2 separate regions of the Homo sapiens genome follow, and region 1 is linked to region 2. Evidence: promoter capture Hi-C in human tissues and cell types (Jung and others, 2019). All regions are on one chromosome and are shown on one strand. Each heading gives the region's core, a stretch centred on a gene start or on the middle of the fragment in contact. The rest is flanking DNA. Distances are from core to core; before and after follow the strand shown.

Region 1 (7,420 bases), core at 3,325-5,824, 220 kb before region 2:
AATAAGACTTTAAATGAGAGCACCATGGGCCTCTCTGTGTCCCCCTGAGCTTGCAGTCCATCCCCTTTACTCACCGAAGCCTCCGGGGTTTGATCGTGGAGTATAGAAGCTCTGAACGCCACATCTCTTACAGAAGGTATGCTGGGCTTTGTGAGTATTGAACGTGTAAGTCGTTATGTGCTCAGCTCCCTAGGTGAAAACAGACAAACGGTATTCTTTTTTACAAAGAGATTTATTTATTTAATTTATTTATTTATTTATTTATTGAGACAGAGTCTCCCACTGTCTCTCAGGCTGGAGTGCAGTGGCGCAATCTTGGCTCACTGCAACCTCCACCTGCATGGGTTCAAGAGATTTTCCTGCCTCAGCCTCCCAAGTAGCTGGGATTATAGGCGCGTGCCCCCATGCCCAGCTAATTTTTTGTATTTTTAGTACAGACAGGGTTTCACCATGTTGGCCAGGTTGGTCTCGAACTCCTGACCTCATGATTCACCCACCTTGGCCTCCCAAAGTGCTGGGATTACAGGTGTGAGCCACTGCGCCTGGCCCCAAAGACATTTATTTTTATGTCACTTAAAAAATACACCTTTGTAGCCGGGTGTGGTGGCAGGCGCCTGTAGTCCCAGCTACTCGGGAGGCTGAGGCAGGAGAATGGCATGAACCTGGAAGGCCGAGCTTGCAGTGAGCCGAGATCATGCCACGGCACTCCAGCCTGGGCAACAGAGCGAGACTCCGTCTCAAAAAAAAAAAAAAAAAAAACACCTTTGGCCAGGCATGGTGGCTCATGCCTGTAATCCCAACACTTTGAGGCCGAGGCAGGCGGATTGCTTGAGCCCAGGAGTTCAAGACCAACCTGGGCAACATGGCAAAACCCTGTTTCTACAAAAAAATATAAAAATTAGCCAGGTGCAGTGGCACACATCTGTAGTCCCAGCTACCTGGGAGGCTGAGGTAGGAGCATCAGTTGAGCCTGGGGAAGTAGAGGCTGCAGTGGGCTGAGATCGCACCATTAAAAAAAAAAATCTTGAAATAACTTAATGGCAGGAGCTCTTCTGTAGGGCTCTTTGTACTAAGAGGCCATTTCCTATCTCCAGAAGAGACTGGGACCTTCTTGAGGACAGAGACCCATCTACACTATCCAGAGACATGTCAGTCTGGAGCGTGACAGCTCACAGCTTCCCTTAGGTCAACGGCATACAGAATTCAGCCTTGAGCCTTCCCTGATACATCACATCAGGGAGGGAAAGTGCTTGCTTCCCAGGGCCTATGTGGAGAGACAGTTCACCCAAGGGACTGGCTCTCCATGTCCCCAAACAGAACGGCTCAAGGTCTTAAGAAAACTGATGGCTGTGCTTAATTTATCCACAAAGGACAAACCAGGAAAAAAATATTTGCCAGACGTCATAGACAGGCTAATTTCCTTAATGGATAATACAAACGGGAGACTGGACAAAGGACATGAACGGACAGTTCAGATAGAAAGAAAAATAAATCACTCTTTAGCCTATGAAATGCTCACCAAAGGAACTTCAATGAGATGTATTTCACTGTCAGGTGGGCAAAATCAAAGCCGTTAACATGGTATTGACAAGTATGTAGAGAAATATGTGCTCACATATATCAGTCACAGGAACAGGAATTGGTACAATTTAGCAACATCTACCAAAATTTTAAAGTGTACATATGCTTTAGCACACAATTCCATTTCTTGAAATTTATTATACAGATATATTCCAAATGTCTCAATGACATAGGTATATAGATACTATAGCACTGTTTATGAAGGCTAAAGATTGGAAAAATTGAAAATGTCCCTCAATAGAGGACCGGTTAGGCATTATGGACACTCATAAAATGAAATATTCTCCAACTTTTGAGAAGAATGAGACAGCTCTACAAAACTAACATGGAACAATTGCCAAAGTTACAAAGTAAAGCAAGGTATAGGCCAGGCGCAGTGGCTCACGCCTGTAATCCCAGCACTTTGGGAGGCCAAGGTGGGCAGATCACTTGAGGTCAGGAGTTCAAGACCAGCCTGGCCAACATGGTGAAACCCTGTCTGTACTAAAAATGTAAAAATTAGCCAGATGTGGTGGCGGGCACCTGTAGTCCCAGCTACTCAGGAGGCTGAAGCAGGAGAATCACTTGAGCCTGGGAGGCGGAGGTTACAGTGAGCCGAGATCACACCACTGCACTCCAGCCTGGGCAACAGAGTGAGACTGTCTCAAAAAAAAAGTTAAGCAAGGTATAAAACAACGTACGTGGTATGCTACCATTTCTTTTTTTTTTTTTAAGGCTATATACTGGTATGTGTGGTGTTTTTGTTTTGTTTTGTTTTGTTTTTTTGAGACAAGATCTCACTCTGTTATCCAGGCTGGAGTGCAGTGGTATGACGACAGCTTACTGCAGCCTTGACCTCCCAGGATCAAGTGATTCTCCCACCTCAGCCTCCCGAGTACCTGGGACTATAGGCATGCAACACCACACCTAGCCGATTTTTTATTTTTTGTAGACATGGGGGTCTCGCTATGTTGTCCAGGCTGGTGTTGAACTCCTGGGCTCAAGTGATCTGCCTGCCTTGGCCTTCCAAAGTGCTGGGACTACAGGCATGAGCTACTGTGCCTGGCCTGTATGTGCTTTTATATGCATATGTATCTTTGAAGAGGGATCCAAGAAACAGTGGCTTACCTTTAGGGAGAGAAATCAGACAGCTGAAGGGGAAGGGGTGGAGGTTTCTTATCCTTGTTAACCCTCTTTACGCTTCCCCAGCCATACCGTCCAGAATTGTGCTTCCTATAGAAATAGCTCCCTGAGGAGCCTTGCTCACTCCATAGCCACTGCAGCACAGAAAAGCAGCGAAGGACTGCCAAGTGGTCCCAAGCCATCCAGCATTATCTGGATGGAATTAAAGCCCCGCCCAACCCCACATTACCCATAATGTGCTAAAAGTCTTTTTTAAAAAATCTGTATTCTTTAACCTGGAGATTTTCTTTCTCTCTTTTTTTTTAACTGCTCCTTGTAGAGCAGGGTGTAGGAAGTGTGCCCAGAATAGCCAGAGAACTTATTTCTAAGAGAATTGATCCTAAAGAAGAAATTTCTAAATTGTCAAAAATGTATACCAAGGAGGTTCACCAGTGTTGTTGATAATCAGAAAAAAACGGGACTCAACTGCAATGATGCAGAGACAGTGATGGGGTAAGTAGACCAGGAAATCGGCTGTGGGGAAGAGGGAGACTGGGGCATGGGGACAGTAGGGAAAGATTTTTCACTGTGTATATACACATTTTCTTCTACCTTTCAAATTTTGTACCAAGTACAAAAAATTCCCCAAAATAATAAAATTAAAGTTACAAATAAGTATATAAGCTTTTCATTGGGAAATGAGATAAGCAGTTTATCAACAAAAAGAATGGTAAAATTCTACTTAATAAACATAAGACAATAGGTTTAGATGTATTTCTCAGAGTAGAAAATAATACACAAAGACAGACACCAAAATATTAACAGTGGTTACCTTTAGTTGACAGGATTTGGGTGATTTTATTGTTTTTTGATTCTCTGAATTTGAAAATGTTTCCACAATACCAAATAGGCCTCCAAAAAATAAAGGTAAAAAATAACACAACCTTTTATTTTTTATTTTCATTTTTTTTGAGATGGAGTTTCACTCGTCACCCAGGCTGGAGTGCAATGGTGTGATCTCGGCTCACTGCAACCTCCACCTCCCAGGTTCAAGTGATTCTCCTGCCTTGGCCTCCCAAGTAGCTGGGATTACAGGCATGCACTACAACGCCCAGCTAATTTTTGTATTTTTAGTAGAGATAGGGTTTCACCATGTTGGCCAGGCTGGTCCTCAACTCCTGACTTCAGGTGATCCATCCATCTTGGCCTCCCAAAGTGCTGGGATTACAGGCGTGAGCCACTGTGCCGGGCCCACCTTTTAAATGTCAACCTGAAACCAAAGCCCGTGAGAGGCCCTGCTATGCTCCAGGCCCCTCCCATGCTACAGACGGCATGCTAACAGTTGGGTGGGGGGTCCTGTAAATCTCACCAATGGGTTCTGCACTCCTTGACCCTGCTCTTAAGCACTGACCTTCAGGAGCTTGAAGCGAGAAGCTGGAACAATGAAGTGTCTATTCTGCTTCTTCTTGCAAATGCTGCAACTACAGAAAGACAGAGCAAATTCCAGATTGTGAGCAGCCACCTGCATCCTCTATGCCTGAGCGGCCCAGCCATGAGAGCCAGCCGACCCCACAGATGATGCCCCTTTCAGCACCATCCAGGGCCGAGGAGCTGGGGCAAAGGCCTGGATAGCAGTGCCTCTGGTTTGCAGGTACAGCAGAGCCCAGGGGGGTCCCAAGTCAGCAGTCGAGGTTCTGCAATGCTCAGAACACAGGACCAACAGACAGGTCTGTACTGCCCACCCCTCAGTTCTTTACAGTGAAGAGAAGCGCTGGACTTCAGAGACACTTAGGAAACAAATTTCAGACACTGCTACAACCTGATGTCTCTGAGACATCCACACCAAAAATGGACAAGGAAGTTTAGGTTTCCCTCTTTCTTCATCACCACGTCACAAGAAGTCCAGCTCCAAGTAAAACACGTCCCCAGAATTACCATCTCTGGAATTAAACTGAAGTCCCCTCTTTTCAGGCCACCTTTGAAAAAGTTCTAATTTAGCACAGAATCCTCTCACAAGTTATTCCACAGTGCTTCTTTTCCAATCTGGACTCTATTGTTAGTAGCCTGGTCAGTTCTCCATTTGAGTAATTCCATCGTATGTGCTTATTATTCATATATAATTCCGGTACCTAGGGGCAAAAAGGACTGGATGCTGTTAAATAATTAGCTGCATGCCAACTTTGGGTCCCAAAGCCAGAGCCTGTCGTCCCTGCTCCATCATAACGCCGGGGAAGGTGGTACAAATCAGGCCCTCCACAGCCAGCAGTGCCATCTGCCTCAACCGAAGAGCAGAGCGAGAGTGGAGGGCCTGGGGAGCCTCCAGGTGTATACACCCTTTACTAACATACCCTCCAACTCTCCCCAACTCTAGACTTCTATGAAGATTCTGCCCAAGGCTTTCCACTCAGTACCCAGCCAGGCACACCTGCAGCTAACCGCCCCCGGCTCCTCAGCAGTGTCAGTCTGAGGGTGATGCTGCCACAAGCCACAAGCCCTGAGGACCCTGCTCTGTGTCACCTGGGCCATGCTGTTGAAGCTCTGTGATGAGCCATATAAAAGGAACAAAAATAGAACAATGAACCTTTCTGTCCCCATCACCTGACTTCAACAGTTACCAGCCCAAGGCCAATGTTTCCTCTGTACCCCAACTCCCCAGATTATTTTGAAATATTGCATTTTAACTCTGAAATTCTTTTAAGCCAATTTAGGGAAAAAAAAATACTCACTTGCAGTCAAATATATGCAAGTCTGCTGAGGCCCAAACTTCAAAACGAACTGCTCCACAGTGGCAGCCTCCTGTGTGCTTCACCAGGCCCTGGTATTCACTAAATGAAACAAAAATCAGAAAGATAATAATTTCTGAATAGCTGCCTCCTGCTCTCTTTTTGTTGCTGAAAGAAAGACAGAAGATTAGACAAAAGTCTTTTCTACATGACAACCAGATGCATTTCTGCTTTTAAGGAGGCACTGTCAATTTCCTAAGTGAAGAATGGTTTCAGCACCTTCTTTGTCCATGAGCTCTCTTTTCACCAATTTCTTAAATTATATTAAGTTGCAAAATAAAACATTCCAAACATTTCGAAAATGTGAGGGATCCTAACCCACCACCAGACATTTTTATTTATATGTCAAATACTAAATTTTTTTTTTTTTTTTTGAGATGGAGTCTCAGTCTATTGCCCAGGCTGGAGTACGGTGGCACGATCTTGGCTCACTGCAACCTCTGCCACCTGGGTTGAAGCAATTCTCCAGCCTTAGCCTCCCAAGTAGCTGGGATTACAGGCGCCTGCCACCGCGCCCTGCTAATTTTGTATTTTTAGTAGAGATAGGGCTTCACCATCTTGGCCAAGCTGGTCTTGAACTCCTGACCTTGTGATCCACCCACGGGGACTCCCAAAGTGCTGGGATTACAGGCGTGAGCCACTGCTCCGGGCCTCAAATACTAAATATTTTTATGAGCTAGGCACGAAGGAGAGAACACTAAACAAGATACAGCAGACACGATTGCTACCCTTACCGACCTTAACAATTTACTCAAATAATAATTAATTATGATTGTGATAAAGGAGGTACAGGCTGCTATGAAAAATAAGACTGTGTACTCAATCAAGTCCAGAGGTCCAGAAGAGCCTTTTGAGAAACTTAATAAAGGCTCTTATATTTTTGCTCTATTTCTTTCCAGTATTCTTCATACACATGCGTTTTACATAGTTGTAATACACATTACATAGAATTTTTTTTTTTTGAGAGGGAGTTTCATTCTTGTTGCCCAGGCTGGAGTGCAGTGACGCGATTTCAGCCCACCGCAACCTCCACCTCCAGGGTTCAAATGATTCTCCTGCCTCAGCCTCCCGAGTAGCTGGGATTACAGGCGCCCACCACCACACCCAGCTAATTTTGTATTTTTAGTAGAGACGGGGTTTCTCCATGTTGGTCAGGCAGTCTCAAACTCCCCACCTCAGGTGATCCACCCGCCTCGGCCTCCCAAAGTGCTGGGATTACAGGCATGAGCCACCTCACCCAGCCTACATACAATTTTAACCCTTTAAAGCTTATATATAAGCCAAACTCAGAAATGAACATTAAGATCTGATAAATGTCTTAAAATCGCTTTCCAAAAGGATTGAACACCCTTACCCGATAAATAAATGAGAAAACATTTCACTGTACAGTCTCAGGCAATAATTATAGGAAAAATAGCTCACTGCAGTTTTAATTTGCATGATTAAGACTGATCATTTTTTCATGTTTCTTTACGTTTATGTATTTTAATTTTTTCTGCACACATAATGCTTATTGTAAAAACTCCAAACTTCACACTATTTGAGAGTGCTCAAAGTGAAAGCCTCCTGTAATCTTTACACCCAGAGGGATCTACAGTTAATTATTTGTTATATATTCCCCCAAACTTTTTTCTACACAATATTTTAACGAAAATGGTACAGTTATACACACTTTTTGAATATAATTTAGTAGACTTTATAAGTACAAAGTCATGGCAATCTAGTGGGAGAAAAACAGCTTTTTTATGTCAATATTTTAAAACTTTTTCTTGACCATTTATCAGTTTGTCTTAAAATAAAAATTTATCTCAAATTTGAGTTTTACATTCTTCTTTTTTTCTGTATGCCTTGAAGACACCATGAGTTTTACATTCCTAAGGATCTTCGTATTCCTTCTGCCCAGAGGCAGCCGTCACCCTATAGGTGCTCAAATGTTTGATGGATGAACGTTTTTT
Region 2 (7,358 bases), core at 2,091-4,590:
GTAACCCCAGCTACTCCAGAGGCTGTGGCATGAGAATCACTTGAACCCAGGAGGTGGAGGCTGCCGTGGACCAAGATCGCACCACTGCACTCCAGCCTGGGCAACAGAGTGCGACTCTGTCTCAAAAAATATATATAAATTCATGACCAACAGTAATATGACAGAATGCATGGCCTTTAACTACTTGTTAATGAGGAAAAATAATAGTAACAATCATCTATTAATTGCTTAACTGTAATCCAGGCTAACTACAAGTCTCATAATATTTAATACTCACAACCTAAGAGGTAAATTCTATTTATGAGAGTAGAATAACTCAGGCTAAGAGAGGTTAAGTATCTTGTCCCAAATTGCAGTTCCAATGGTAGAGCCGGGAAACAAAACCTAAATCCATCTGGCTGTGGAGGTCAATCTCGTATTCTCTATGTGATATTGCTGACAAAGTCAAAGTAAGGAAAGACATATCAAGGGAAGGCAATGGAAGCACCTTTTCTTTATAGTACATTCACCTACCTTAACAGACCAAGATAACATAGGAGAGAAACTGGGGCTTAAGTCCTTGATAGAGCTTCTGGGGGCACAGTAGTTATAGGGCCAGGTCAGAAAATGTCCTCACACACTAAGAAGGCATTTTAAAATCAGAAAAGACAGTCACACTCACTTTGGTCACCAAGTCATTTAGCCATCCTGTCTGGAAAGCATGTTTTCCTCTGGGGTCTTCCTCTGGGGTATCTTGGGAAAGGGTAGAGTTTTGAGGAGCTAGAGAAGAGAAAGAGGTCATGAGGGAGATTAGTCCTTTCTGAATAGCCTAGGAAACCCCTCACCAAATAGATGCCTACACTTTCTTAAATCGAGAAGTAAGAAGGAAATCAAAAACAGCACTCCTACTTCAAAGCATCAGAGGAAAGGGCCAATGACTTGTCCTAAGACATCAAAACAGACTTCAAAAACAAGCTCGCTCTAAAAATCTTAAAGAGTATGAACAAAATTCACATTTTAACTAAATCCTTATGTGATATTAATTTTGTGAGTTATCTCTTAATAAGGGAATGTTCTCTAGACCCTTTCTTCCTTTTTTGGAAGTATTTTATTGTAAAATTCAATTCACAAAGCAAATGATTTATTAGTAGAATGGTGCAAACCTCTGAAGGTACTTTCTGAGGGCTCACACAGTGGTAATTTGGTTGCGTCTGGTCATTATTTCAAGACGTTTTTCTTGGGGGTTTAGATAATGTGTGTTTGCTCCCAAGCAATCTGGAAGGAGAACACCATGCAGGATGGAGCTCATGTTAAAGCCTTGTTCTCACTCACTAACCTTTGTTCTCCCCAGTTTCTTTCTTTTTAAAAAATGCATCCTGGACCTCTCAGTGCTCTCCCTGATTTCTTTAAAGGAGCTGCTCAGATGTGCTAGTTGTCTTCTTTAACCACCCAGGGATTCCTCCCCTCTCTGCTCTATGATTCTCACCTTCCTCTTCTAGAATCTGAGTCAAATCCTCCACCAGAGTCACTGCTTCCTCGCTGCTCTCTGGATACTGGGACTTTACCCAAGTCCTAACCTCACCAGGCAGGATGGTCAGGAATTGCTCCAGCACCAGCAGCTCCAAAATTTGTTCCTTTGAGTGAATCTCAGGTCTCAGCCACTTAAGGCAGAGCTCTCGGAGTTGACTCAATGCCTTTCGAGGACCAGCCAGGTCTGGGTATGGAAAATTCCTAAAATTCTGTCGACAGGTCTCAGTGTCACGCAAGAATCTTGAAGTAAGGATTTCCTTCTCAACATTGTAGGGTCCACTCTGAGCCTTGTCTGACTTCCACCTTAGAAGGATTTGAGAACGTGAAGAACTGTTCATCCTCTTGCTTGAGGCTAACATTGCTACAGACAGGAGAGTCAATCTGGCAATATCCTTTATTTCTCCAGTAGTGAGCCAACTGCTTGAAGTCTCATGCTAGAGTCACAAGGACACTATATCAAAGGCTGCTGCAGCCGAGGGCAGAACAGAATCAAGGTAGAGTTAGCAGCCTTAGTGACAAATTCTGAGCCCAGAACTTGCAGGGATGGATAAGAGACCCTGAAACACAAGCATGGACCACAAGGTCAAGAATCCCTGGTGTACTCTACTATACATATACACACACAGAAACAGACTCGCAGTGTGCATAGATGAACACACATAAGCTTTACCTTGTCTTCCTCCCCTATATCCTTAGACTTGTAAGGGAACTGCCATCTGCTTGGGGTTGGTGGGGGATGGAGCTGCTATTAAAAAGGTAGTGTCAGAGGCAATGACTCGAATCTAAGCCAAACAACAGATTAAACCTCTAACCTGTTGTAACAAAAATTAAACATTTTTATAGAGAAAATAGTTTCATTATTTTAGTCACTGATGTTACAGAAGCTGTAATGACTGAACGGACTCTCAACAATAACAAAGTGAATCTGTTACTTGGAAGAAACTAGGAGAATTTCTTCTTAATACAGTGCTCAAGGTTCCCAAGGGAACTGTCAGGGGAAAGGGCGAGCCATTTATCTGCGTTGCATGTTAATGCCAGCCGATTCTAGCCTTTCACTATCAGAGGGTTGGGAAGACCAGCGGGTTGGACTGGAAAAGAGTGAAGAGGTTGGTGTGACTTCAAGTCCTTTAAGTGCTTCTATAGGAGACAGTTCTTTAGGGATATATTCGAAACCAGGATTCTCGAAGGAAACCTTAGAACCGGCCTGATCTGGAGGAGAACCGACACCACCTCTCCCCAGGCTCCAGCTCCGAGCCCTGCTGAGGCACAGTCGTGCCACCAAAGACAACTGTTTACAAGGCCCTGCGGAGGTGATGCGACAGCCTTGCCTTGCCTCCTGTCGCCTCCCCTTCCCGGCCAAGTCCCTCTGCCTCTTACTCCTCTTCAGCCGCAGGGTCGAGGTCGAGGGCAGCGGGGGAGTCGGGGACCGTGCGACGCGCAACGCTGGGACTGGGCCCACAGCAGCCTCCACCCCGTCTTTGCCCTCCCGCAAGCCACGAGCACGGGAGCCCGCGCGTGGACGGGCTCGGGCTGTCACTGATCGCGCGGACACTCGCGCGCTGCGCCCGGACATCAATACCTGTCGCTGGGACCCGGCCGACGGGCAGCCGGAGCGGCCCTAAGGCCACAGGCAACAATGGCGACGCTGGCACAGGCGCCTGCGTGGCGGGCTCAGTCCCGAGCGGCAGCGGATCCTCGGGCTCCGCCACTTCCCTTCCCCGCAAAGCACAGAGTGTCCCGGCCAGGAGCTGCACGTTCCAGCCCGGTCCTGAGAAGCCCGGCCCAGAAACCCCGGCGCCTCTGCTTAGCCGCGACCTCGCCTCGGCGTCACTGCGCATGTGCGCCAGAGGAACGCTGCGCGCCCGCAGAGCCAATCGGAGCCCAAGCTGCCGCCTCCCCCTCCCGCGCCTCTGGCCCTGGACCTGTCTCCATGGCAACCTCCTCCACCCATCGCTCTGACTTGCTTGTCAGCCTGCGAGGTTCCGAAGGGAACTTCAAAGTTTCCCCGGGCAGACGCAGGTCTGGTAGACGTCTTGGAGGCCAGGGAGGTGCCAGTAGCTGGAGGAGCGCCGGGAGTTGAAGCCCCGCGCCAACTACGCAGAGAAAACTGGGCGCCAGATTTCCTAGAGGAAGAATGGGCAGGGAAGATGTGGGTCTAAAGGCAGAAAGACTTAATGTGCGGTTTCGGGCTTTACTGTGCATACATACTAACTGTGAAAGGTTTTCACTTCCTCCTCAGGAATTTGATTCTGAGACTCTCAGATTGGGGGAAAAAAACCCATGTTCTTTCTTTCTTTCTTTTTTTTCTTTTGAGACGGAGTCTCGCTCTGTCGCCCAGGCTGGAGTGCAATGGTGCGAGCTCGGCTCACTGCAACCTCCGCCTCCTGGGTTCAAGTGATTCTCCTGTGTTCAAGTGATTCTCACTTGAACTTCCTGGGTTCAGCCTCCCGAGTAGCTGTTATTTCTAAGAGACACAAAACAAAAATACATAAAACACTGGAAAAATAAAAGCATAGAAAAACATATTCAAGGTGTTCCCGTTATCTACTGTTCTATTAACAAACCACCCCAAAACTTAGTGGTTTTGAAGGACAATCACCGTATTATGCTCATAAATTTCATGGTGAGGAATTTGAAAGGGGAACTGAGTGGGTGGGCCTTTGCCTCATTATGTCTGTAGCCTCTGTTGGGATGATTTGATGGCTGGGAGGGCCCGCTTCCAAGATGGCTTTTCCACTCACATGTCTACTGCTTGGGAGGAGATGGGCTAAAAGATGAACTCGGCTTGTGTTTGACCAGAGTGCCTCAATGTGGTCTCTCCAGCATAAAGGACTGAGGGCAGCTGGACTTGTTACATGGTGGCTCTGGGCTCCAAGAGTGAGCATTCCAGTGAACAAGAGAGAAGCGCCATGGCCAATTATAACATGGCCTTGGAAGTCACCTAACACCAATTCTGTCAGACTCTTGGTCAAAGCAATCACAAGCCTACAGAGAATCAAATGGAGGCAGAATCCTGTGAGGGTGGAGGAGGACTGTCAAAGACTCTTAATATCACCACACCAGGAAAATTTTAACAAAAAGAAAGTTGGACCGGGCGCGGTGGCTCACGCCTGTAATTCCAGCACTTTGGGAGGCCCAGGCAGGTAGATCACCTGAGGTCAGGAGTTTGAGACCAGCCTGGCCAACATGGTGAAACTCCGTCTCTACTAAAAGAACAAAAATTAGCCTGGTGTGGTGGCGCACGCCTGTAATCCCAGCTACTCAAGAGGCTGAGGCAGGAGAATCACTTGAACCTGGGAAGCGGAGGTTGCAATGAGCTGAGATTTTGCCACTGCACTCCATGTACTCCAGCCTGGGCGACACGAGCAAGACTCCATCTCAAAAAAAAAAAAAAACAAACTTGGGGAGTGTGATGGTCTTTTGATGTGTCAACTTGGCTAGGCTACAGTCTCTTGCTATTTAAGTAAACACGAATCTAGGTGTTGCTGTAAAGGCATTTTGTAGATGAGATTGAAGCCCATAAACCCAGTTGGACTAAGTAGCATGGGAGATTATCCTAGATAATTTGGGTGGGCCTGATTCAATCAGTTAAAAGCTTTCAAAAAAGAACCGAAGTTTCCCTGATGGAGAAGAAACTCCATCAGCGTACCACAGCTTCCAGCCTGCCCTTCCTGATGGGGTGCTCTTATGGACTTTGGACTCACCTGGTCACCCCCTCAATCGAGTAAGCCAACTCTTTGCCACAAGTATCTTAAATATCTACTGGTTCCGCTTTTTTGATTGAACCCTGACTGATACAAGTAATAATTCTAATATCTGATAAGCTAGAATTTGAGAAGATTAAAAGGGAATAAATAAGAGTGCTTGATGGAAAAGATATATTTATCATAAATATACAGCATGTCCCTAACACTAAGGCCTCAAAACATACAAAGCAATAGCTGACATACCTGTAGGGAGGAAAACATAAACCAACAACCAAAGCTGGAAACTTAATACGCCCTATAGTGCACACTGTGGTGCTGCCAGGATCCTCCTTCAGGGTTGAGGCATCCATCCCAGCAGCTGCCGGGTGAGTGGCTGCTGATGGCTCACAGCAAAATACTTCCTTGGGAGTTGTCCTAACTGCAGGGGGCTGCCTCTCACAAGTCACGTCTTCTCCCCGGGGGAAGTCCATATCCAAAGACTGCTCAGTGCAGGCCTCAAAGACCTGGCCCCCTGTCTTCAACTTGCAGCCTCTATAAAGGGCCATCTTGGCTTAAGAGTTCCCTGTGAGACCAACTGAGGCCTCTGTTGCAGTCATACAGCATTTAAACCTATTACTCTGTCCAGTTATCCTTATATCACTCCTGTACAGGCATTTTTTCTAGAGAACACTACCCAGTAATTACCTTGTATGCAATTCTCCATCTCAGAATCTATTTATAGGGAATCTGCCCTACACCAGTTGGTACCAGCAGTTGTTCCAAGAACGCAAACTCTAAAATGGAATTTTTTTCTTTTTGAGGTGGGGTCTTGCTCTGTCGCACAGGCTGGAGTGTAGTGGTGCAATCTCAGCTTACTGAAACCTTTGCCTCCCGGGTTCAGGCAATTCTCTCTGCCTCAGCCTCCTGAGTAGCTGGGATTACAGGCACCCACCACCACACCCGGCTAATTTTTGTATTTTTTAGTAGACACTGGGTTTCGCCATGTTGTCCAGGCTGGTCTTGAACTCCTGACCTCAGGTGATCTGCCTGCCTTGGCCTCCCAAAGTGCTGGGATTACAGGCATTAGCCATAAAATGGAATTTTGAAACTGTGTTACCTGCCACCTAGCTGACAATGAGGGAGGGCCCTATGACTTGTGATTGGCAGAGTAGTGATAATGATAGCATATGTCAGGTTGTAGCAAAGTAATTGTTAAAATTGTCAGTGGTGTTGAACTGGGGTGGAATGTTGACAGAAGGGAACGCACTGGTGGGTGCTATATCTCAGATCTTTATAACACTGGGGGAAGTGGTAATTCTAGAGATGATGGAATTGAATGGCTATTACCAGGAGCTATTGACAATGACGGTGATTAGTGACAAATTAATTGAAAATGTGAGCGTCAGAAGACTTCTTTGAAGCCTGACAGCAAAACAGCTGAGAATCAGGCCCTAACTTCAGCTAAGTTTGAATTCTAAATCCCAGCAAGTTTGCTATGCCAAGGTCAGGATCCTGCTGGGAAGGAGTAGAACTCTGAGATTTGGGATGGGGACATTTTGATTTGTGCATGCAAACACCTTCAAACACCAATCACTCTGAATTTCTCAGGCTTGCTAAAGTGGCCCACTCCTCCAAGTCTAAAGCTAGGGCTCTGCCTTGCTTGAAGATGATGCAGACTGAGGCCTCTACATTGCAATACAACCCGTGCCCCCTCAGGATCTACCTACCCTTTCCTCTCCCTACCCCATCCACTAGACCAATAACTAGAATTAAGTCACCAAAAAAACCCAACAGGGGAAATTCTGGGCATGATAAGAGAGGAAAAGAACCATCCTCTGAAGTTACTACAGGCCCTAGTTTATATGTATCTGTAGGAACCAGGACAGTATGTATGAGACTGGACCCTGAGGATGCTGGATCAAGAAGGTAAAACATATATTAGAGTACCAGAGAGTTTATTGAAAAGGAGCACATTCCTGGCCAGGCACAGTGGCTCATGCCTGTAATCCAAGCACTTTGGGAGGCTGAGGCAGGCGGCTCACCTGAGGTCAGGAGTTCGAGACCAGCCTGGCCAGCATGGTGAAACCCTGTCTCTAGTAGAAATACAAAAAATTAGCCAGGCGTGGTGGCAGGTGCCTGTAATCTCAGCAACTCAGGAGGCTG

Evidence for each region. The method cuts DNA at HindIII sites, captures the fragments that hold promoters and counts their contacts. A contact is called where the count stands out against the background at its distance.
Region 1: a fragment that was not itself captured here is called in contact with the fragment with the promoter of ZNF287 in region 2 in 2 of the 25 tissues and cell types used here (spleen and thymus).

The regions. Positions count from the first base shown.
Region 1 is chr17:16,344,523-16,351,942 of GRCh38, forward strand. CENPV (centromere protein V) reads right to left here. Exons shown (of 5, transcript NM_181716.3): 2 at 5,409-5,507; 3 at 4,094-4,163; 4 at 75-189. Among named protein-coding and RNA genes, the nearest start is that of CENPV, 5.2 kb to the right of the region's middle. The HindIII fragment of the contact is 6,129 bases long and covers 1,511-7,420 here.
Region 2 is chr17:16,565,864-16,573,221 of GRCh38, forward strand. ZNF287 (zinc finger protein 287) reads right to left here and starts at 3,341. Exons shown (of 6, transcript NM_020653.4): 1 at 3,089-3,341; 2 at 1,466-2,066; 3 at 662-759. The coding sequence starts at 1,868. RefSeq lists enhancers at 2,404-2,905, 2,906-3,405. The HindIII fragment of the contact is 5,740 bases long and covers 961-6,700 here.